Linked DNA regions of Homo sapiens: regions 1 and 3 are each linked to region 2. The links are contacts of gene promoters, found by promoter capture Hi-C in human tissues and cell types (Jung and others, 2019). All regions are on one chromosome and are shown on one strand. The core of a region is centred on a gene start or on the middle of the fragment in contact, and the rest is flanking DNA. Distances in the headings are between cores, read along the strand shown. Region 1 overlaps CCDC62 (coiled-coil domain containing 62). Region 2 holds the start of HCAR2 (hydroxycarboxylic acid receptor 2). Region 3 overlaps KNTC1 (kinetochore associated 1).

The links. Contacts are between HindIII fragments. The study calls those that stand out against the background at their distance.
Region 1: a contact is called between a fragment that was not itself captured here and the fragment with the promoter of HCAR2 in region 2, in 3 of the 25 tissues and cell types used here (H1 embryonic stem cells, mesenchymal stem cells and mesendoderm cells).
Region 3: a fragment that was not itself captured here is called in contact with the fragment with the promoter of HCAR2 in region 2 in 4 of the 25 tissues and cell types used here (IMR-90 fibroblasts, heart left ventricle, lymphoblastoid cells and 1 more).

What each region holds. Positions count from the first base shown.
Region 1 is chr12:122,780,744-122,783,494 of GRCh38, forward strand. CCDC62 (coiled-coil domain containing 62) reads left to right here. Exons shown (of 13, transcript NM_201435.5): 3 at 421-587. Among named protein-coding and RNA genes, the nearest start is that of CCDC62, 7.5 kb to the left of the region's middle. The HindIII fragment of the contact is 3,682 bases long and covers 1-2,751 here.
Region 2 is chr12:122,701,969-122,704,668 of GRCh38, forward strand. It overlaps HCAR2 (hydroxycarboxylic acid receptor 2), which reads right to left and starts at 1,389. Exons shown (of 1, transcript NM_177551.4): 1 at 1-1,389. The coding sequence starts at 1,315. The coding sequence ends at 224. The HindIII fragment of the contact is 9,565 bases long and covers 1-2,700 here.
Region 3 is chr12:122,622,515-122,625,214 of GRCh38, forward strand. It overlaps KNTC1 (kinetochore associated 1), which reads left to right. Exons shown (of 64, transcript NM_014708.6): 62 at 1-93; 63 at 2,084-2,174. Among named protein-coding and RNA genes, the nearest start is that of MIR9902-1, 72 kb to the right of the region's middle. The HindIII fragment of the contact is 3,781 bases long and covers 1-2,700 here.

The sequences.
Region 1 (2,751 bases), core at 202-2,701, 79 kb after region 2:
TACACACAACTGAGTGAATCTCAGAATCATTATCTTAAGCAAAAAAAGCAAACAGAAGAATTGTCAGAATATGATTCCATTTTTATATGGTTCAAATTAAGCTATAATTTTGAGGCATGCGGTCACTGGTAAAACTGTAATGGAAAGCAAGGAAGTGATTACTCTAAGATCAGGGTCATGGTTGGGAACGCGGAAACTGGAGTGATTATGTTCGGGAAGTGACCTCCAGAGGCTTCCAATTGCTCACAGTTCTGTTTCTTGATTAGGTGTGATATTGTGCATTTCATAATAAAAGGTTTTAAAAGAAGATTGTCTTTTTAAAAATTCTCTACCACATTTTTACCTTTTAACCACCCATTTTGAAAATAATGCCTTTTAAGCTGAAGGTGTGACTACAAATTATTGATGAACTTCCCTCAGGTGAACTACATAAAAGAACTGAAATAATCAGGTCACTCACGAAGAAGGTAAAAGCTCTTGAATCCAATCAAATGGAATGCCAAACAGCTCTCCAAAAGACCCAACTACAGCTTCAGGAAATGGCTCAAAAGGCAACGCATTCTTCTCTTCTCTCTGAAGACCTTGAGGTTGGGATTAGTTTTTGATAAGCTTCACTAGTCCAAATTCCCTTTGTGTTTCAGTTATTGAAAAATTAGATTTGACCGGGCACGGTGGCTCACTCCTGTAATGCCAACACTTTGGGAGGCCGAGGCAGGTGGATCACCTGAGGTCAGGAGTTCGAGACCAGCCTGGCCAGCGTGGAGAAACCCCATCTCTACTAAAAATACAAAATTAGCCGGGCGTGGTGGCACACGCCTGTAGTCCCAGCTACTCAGGAGGCTGAGGCAGGAGAATCGTTTGAACCCGGGAGGTGGAGGTTGCGGTGAGCCAAGATCGCGCCATTGCACTCCAGTCCGGGCAACAAGAGCGAAACTCTGTCTCAAAAAAAAAAAGAAAAAAGAAAAATTAGATTTAAATGTTTCATTAAAAATGCATGTGAGGCTGGGCACAGTGGCTTGGTGGCTCATGCCTGTTATCCCAGCTCTTTGTTTGGGAGGCTGAGGTGGGAGGATTGCTTGAGCCCAGGAATTCACGACCAGGCTTGGCAACATGGCAAATGCCTGTCTCTATAAAAAGAAGAAATACAAAAATGAGCTGGGTGTGGGGGTGCACTGCTGTGGTCCCAGCTACTTGGGAGGCTGAGGCAGGAGGATCACTTGAGCCCAGGAGGTCAAGGCTGCAGTAAGCTGTGATTGTGCCACTACACCCCAGCCTGGGTGACAAAAAAAAAAAAAAAAAAGCGTATGTAAGCCAAGCACAGTGGTGTACGCCTGTAGTCCCAGCCTCTGGGGAGGCTGAGGCAGAAACATTGCTTGGGCCCAGGAGTCCAAGTCCAGCCTGGGCAACATAGTGAGACCTCATCTCAACAAAAAACAACAACAGCAAGCAACCAATGCAAAAATGCATACGTGTGTGTACGAAGGTATCTACACTCATCCACCCCTTGTAGTTTTGTGTTTCTCCTACAGTTTTGGTTAGCTGCACGGCATTATCCTGTCTTAGAGATTGAGCTTCAGTACAACGCTTTTTAACCGTTATGCCATTTGGTTTAGTAGCATCTACCATTTAATCAACAATGAGTTATTTTAGAAAGCTTTCCTCAAAGATGAGAGGGTATAATCAAGTTTTGGTAGCCTCAATGATGTTTTCTAAATTATTGTGTGTTTTTTTTGAGATGGAGTTTCACTCTTGTTGCCCAGGCTGAAGTGCAATGGCACGATCTCGGCTCACCATAACCTCTGCCTCCTGGGTTCAAACAATTCTCTTGCCTCACTCCCCCGAGTAGCTGGGATTACAGGCATGCACCACTATGCCCAGCTAATTTTGTATTTTTAGTAGAGACGGAGTTTCTCCATGTTGGCCAGGCTGGTCTCCAACGCCCGACCTCAGGTGATCCGCCCGCCTCAGCCTCCCAAAGTGCTGGGATTACAGGTGTGAGCCACTGTGCCCAGCCAATTATTGTGTCTTATCTCATAATGTTAGTGGCATATTGGGAATAAAAACTGTAAGACTGGTTTTTTGAGCCCGGCATGGTGGCTCACACCTATAATCCCAGCACTTTGGGAGGCCGAGGTGGGCGGTGACTTGAGGTCCAAAGTCTGAGATCAGCCTGGCCAACATGGTGAAACCCCGTCTCTACTAAAAATTCAAAAATTAACCAGGTGTGGTGGTGGGCACCTGTAGTCCCAACTACTCAGGAGGCTGAGGTAGGAGAGTCAATTGAACCTGAGAGGCAGAGGTTGCAGTGAGCCGAGATCGCACCACTGCACTCCAGCCTGGGGGAAAGAGCGAGACTCCTTGTCAAAAAAAAAGATGGATTTTTTTGGTTTTCTCTTCTAACTGGTCAGTCATCAGATATTTTTTGAGTTCATGCTTATAAGAGGTGCAGAAAGCCAGCTTGTTTATTTGTTATATCCTTCATTCTTTTTTTTTTTTTTTCCTGAGACGGAGTCTCGTTCTGTCGCCCAGGCTGGAGTGCAGTGGTGCCACCTCGGCTCACTGCAAGCTCCGCCTCCCGGGTTCACACTATTCTCCTGCCTCAGCCTCCCTAGTAGCTGGGACTACAGGCGCCCGCCACCACGCCCGGCTAATTTTTTGTATTTTAGTAGAGACGGGGTTTCACCGTGTTAGCCAGGATGGTTTCGATCTCCTGACCTCGTGATCTGCCCGCCTCGGCCTCCCAAAGTGCTG
Region 2 (2,700 bases), core at 139-2,638:
GATGCCTAGAAGCTTTACTCTCTATTCCTCCAGGATTCCTGCGGTCACACCTTGCAACCAGTCTCCCACTCATCTGCCACCGTTTCCCTAAATCGCATTCTCTGAATCTGGAAGTTCCAGGAAACCTTAGGCCGAGTCCAGTGACATTACTCGATGCAACAGCCCAACTGTTTCTCCAGAGATCCTGGTTCTTGGTGACAATGTCCCTTCTTGGCATGGTTATTTAAGGAGAGGTTGGGCCCAGATAAGAGGGGCTCCATGGCTCACCGGAGTTGGCCATTAACGCCTCTGGAGCGCCTCTGGTTTTGTTGGGGTCCCCTGTGAGCTCGACGCTCGTGCTGCGGTTATTATCTGGCTCACCTGTCATCTTCCTCTGGAGGCAGCGGTTGATCAAAGTGGAGAAGAAGTTGGGAAAGGATGGGCTGGAGAAGTAGTACACCACGGGGTCCAGCATGCTGTTCATGTAGGTGAAGCTGAGAGTGATAAAGAACGCCAGGTCCACCGAGCGGTACACTTCACAATTCTGCGTGCCCGAAGTGTGCAGGAGCCAGAAGATGCGGATCCGCACAACCACGCTGGGAAGGAAGCAGATGACAAAGACGATGGCCACCACCATGATGAAGGTGATGGCTCTCTTGATCTTGGCATGCCGGTCCATTTGTCTCTGCCGCAGGCTCCAGATAATTCTGGCTGAGCAGAACAGGATGATGCCCAGGGGCAGGAAGAACTCCAGGAGGAACATGGCTTCGTGCCACTGGAAGGTATGGCAGATGCTGAAGCTGCTGCACAAATTTGCACCGCCATTCTGGATCGGCATCTTCTTCTTCAGGAGGTGGACTGTCAGGCCAATAGTGATGCCCCACAGAAGGCAAGAGATGATGGCTGCTGTCCGATTGGAGATCTTGTTCAGGGCGTGGTGGGGATGGACCACCCGGAAATACCTGTCTACCGCCACCACCGTGAGGAAGATGATGCTGCCCTGGCGGTTCATAGCCAACATGAAGAGCATCAGCCGGCAAGGGATGTCCCCAAACTTCCAGTCCCAACGCCTCACATAGTTGTCCATCAGGAAGGGCAGGCAGATGATCAGTAGAAAGTCAGCCACTGCCAGGTTGAACAGGAAAATCCGGCTGGATTTCCAGGACTTGAGGTGGAAACAGAAAATCCACAGGGCAAGGCCATTGCCCAGAAGCCCGAAGATAAACTCCAGCCCCAACACCGGCGGCAACACCTTGACAATGAAGTCATCTCGGAACACACAGCAGTTCTTCTTGTCTATTTCCAGAAAGTGATCCTGCAGATGGTGCCGATTCATGAGTGCGGCTAGTGAGTCCGATGGAGCGCCTCGCCTAGTGAATGCTCCAGCAAGGAGGTGTGTGTCTGTGTGGTGAACGTGTGGTTCCACGCCTGCCTTTATGTCATGTCAGGGTGTTGAAATAGATGACTGAATGGTTACCAGGAAACTACGAAATCTCTAAAAAAAAAAAAAAAAAAAAAAGCCAGCAAGGCTCTTATGCAACCTGCTGTTTGCATAAACAAGTAATAAGAATCCCCTGGGCAGACGGGAACCCACAAAATGTCTTAAATGTAAAGGATAAGTTTAGGCAAGCCGACTGTCATTCGAAAATCAGTGAAACATGAAGGACATCCCTTTGGAAGGCTGGGTGCTTGTATGCCAACTGAGTACTCAACGTTGCAGAATTAATTCACCGTCATCTGCTTGGCTGACATAATTAACAAAACAACAACAATAGCAATAACAATTTTTGGTGCCAAACAGTGAGGTTTTCCAGAAACACTAAGAATTAGCATGAAAAATTAACAGGCATATGACATAAACAGTAGCAGACATATGATTTCTTTTGGAAATGCTGAGAAGACAGTAGTTGCCTGTTTGATGAGGACAGACTGGTTGAATTTGACCACTTTTCCTATGCTACCTTTCTGTACAAACATGGAGTGCTTTTCCATATCAGAACTCTGCCATTCATCTCCAGTTAGGAAAAAAAAAATAGCCTGCTGGAGAGTGTAATATTTCATAAGACATTTGAAAACTTGAGCCCAGTTTCAGTGGCATGTTAACATAAGTTGGGTTTTTTGTTTGTTTATATTAGATTTTGATATGCTTCTGTGCTCAAGTGATTTATTTTTAAGTATGTGATTTCTTTTTTTTGCAAACTTTGAATTAATGAGAAAAAGGATTCATGAGGCTAGTCGTAAGCTGTAGCAAATCGGGTGTACTTTGTGCTACAAATTTGTTTTTCTGTGTCGCTCTGCATGAAGAGGGGTACCTTAGGATAGAGCATGGGGTTAGTACCCCATAAGCTGTCTGTTCTAGACAGCCCAGGAAACTGGTCAGTAAGAAAGTTGGTTGCAGGTCCCTGAAACAAACAAAAAACTGGATGAGGTCTCTAACTTGTTTTATGTCCTTGGGACCTTAGGATGTGATTTTTTTTTTTTGAGACAGAGTCTCACTCTGTCACCCAGGCTGGAGAACGGTGGAACAATCTCAGCTCACTGCAACCTCCGCCTCCCAGGTTCAAGCAATTCTTCTGCCTCAGCCTCCTGAGTATCTGGGACTACAGGCGTGCGCCACCACGCCCAGCTAATTTTTTGTATTTTTAGTAAAGACGAGGTTTCACTGTGTTGGCCAGGCTGGTCTCAAACTCCTGACCTTGTGATCCGTCTGCCTCGGCCTCC
Region 3 (2,700 bases), core at 137-2,636, 79 kb before region 2:
GGCAAAGACCAAATACTTTCAAATGTTGAAGATGCATGCGATGAATACCAACAATATCACTGAGCTAGTGAACTATTTGGCAAATGACTTAAGGTAAGTTAATTAAAAAAAAAAAAACTTACTGTGGAATTTCCTTAAAATCTATCTTTATAAGCTGGGCACGATGGCTCACGACTGTAATCCTAGCACTTTGGGAAGCTGAGGTGGGTGGATCACCTGAGGTTGAGAGTTCAAAACCAGCCTGACCAACATGGAGAAACCCTGTCTCTACTAAAAATACAAAATTAGCCGGGCATGGTGGCACATACCTGTAATCCCAGCTACTAGGGAGGATAAGGCAGGAGAATCTCTTCAACCCGGGAGGCAGAGGTTGCAGTGAGCCGAGATCGCACCATTGCACTCCAGCCTGGGCAACAGGAGCGAAACTCTGTCTCAAAAAAAAAAAAATCTATCTTTATGTTGGAGCAGAATGTCAACTGTAGAGCTATTTGGTTGTAATTAAAAGCTCAAAATATTACATCTCTCATTACTGCACATATCCAAAAGTTAATCATTTAATAACCCAATTTCTTGGAATATGACCTTAGAATCTGACAATTAAACAGGTCATCTGAACCCCCAAATCAAGTGTCTCACAGCCCTGTTCTAAATCCTACATTACAATTTTATGTCTAGACACTTGCTCAGAACATTAATGACTTTATGTAGCATCACTTTTGTTAAACCTGGTTATCTAATTTTCCAGCACCCACAAGTTTAGAAACAATAAGCTTCTTGGGATAGAGCTGGGGGTGGATATGGAAACTGAACGGGAGAAGGAAGAAGTGGGCTGACACTAAAGAAAGGGAAGTTCAAGACCGCAGTACACACCAGATCCATCCCTGCATGTGGTCTAGCCATGTTGGCGCTTGAGAGGTCTTTCTTTCTCATTACCACTCCATGGATTTCCATCTGCTTGTTTATCTCTTGTGATCCAGCCATAATTAGATATTGTCATTTTTGAGCAAGTATTTTTTGAGTTATAATTGATACATATAATAAGCTGGACATACTTGAAGTCTGCAATTTAGTAAATTTTGACATATGTATACCTATAAAGCCATCACCACAATCAAGAGAGTGAACATAATTCTCTGAAAGTTTCCTCATGCCCTCTGTGAAGTTGATTACATGAATTAGGTCATTCTTGTGATACCCAAATTCATCAGAGTCGAGGGGCCCAGGGGAAAAGCACTCAGAGTACAAAACATTGCTCCAAAAACATAATTCTGGCCGGGCGCAGTGGCTTACTCCTGTAATCCCAGCACTTTGGGAGGCCGAGGCGGGTGGATCACCTGAGGTTAGGAGTTCAAGACCAGCCTGGCCAACATGATGAAACCCTGTCTCTACTAAAAATACAAAAAGTTAGCCGAGCATGGTGGCGCATGCCTGTAATCCCAGCTACTCGGGAGGCTAAGGCAGGAGAATCGCTTGAACCCAGGAGGTGGAGGTTGCAGTGAGCCGAGATCGCACCATTGCACTCCAGCCTGTGCAACAAGAGTGAAACTCTGTCTCACAAAAAAGAAAAAAAAGAACAATGTGTAACATGTCTCTTTTTCATAAAACCTCTAACCTTCTCTTTGTTCTTTGGACAATCCAGAGACTACCCAGTCTATGTATATGCCCCAAATTGGAATTATTTCTTCCCAAATAAAACATTAAATTCAGAGATTGGTCTTTACATTTTAATTTTGACTTCAATGCCTCTTTTTCTTTTCTTTTCTTTTCTTTTTGAAATAGGGTCTTGCTTTGTCACCCAGGCTGGAGTGCAGTGGTACAAACGTGGCTCACTGCTGCCCCAACCTCCTGGGTTCAAGCGATCCTCCTACCTCAGTCTCCAGAGTAGCTGGGACTACAAGTGTGCAACACCACACCTGGCTAATTTTATATTTTTTGTAGAGACAGGGCTTTGCCATGTTGCCCAGGCTAGTCTCAAACTCCTGGACCCAAGCCATCTGTACATCTTGGCCTCCCTGAGTGCCGGGATTGTAGGCACAAGGCACTGTGCTTGGCCTAACACTTCTTTTTCTTTTTGATTTTGTAGTTTAGATGAAGCTTCAGTCTTGATAACTGAATATTCAAAGCACTGCGGGAAACCTGTGCCTCCAGACACTGCTCCCTGTGAAATTCTGAAGGTAAAGCTGATGGAAAGTTCTTAGGTTCTAACTTGACATTGTTTATATTCCTAGGGCCTTAAAATTGACAAGCCTTTTCTAGTGTTCTGGAGATAAATGTATTTTTATGTGTAACTGTAATTTTTATATTTTACTTTTTGTGTTAGAGAGTTCTAAACTAGAAATCAAGAGACCACAGTTCTAATCTCAGCCCTGCCACTGGGCAGCAAAGCCTAATGTGGGCTTAGTCTTCAGATCTGGACCCCATGGTCTCTCAGGTGCTTTCCAGCATTACCATTCCTCATAAGGTGGTGTTTTTAATATTGAAGCAGGTGAAAAACTGAATTCTAAAAGGTGTTGATTATTGTCATGCTTGGGTATTAATTGCTTTTTAAATTAATTATTATTCTTTAATTACCTAAAACGTATATTCACTGCAGAAAAAAAAGAAGTATGGCTGGGCACGGTGGCTCACACCTGTAATCCCAGCACTTTGGGAGGCCAAGGGGCAGATTACCTGAGGCCAGGAGTTCAAGACCAGCCTGGC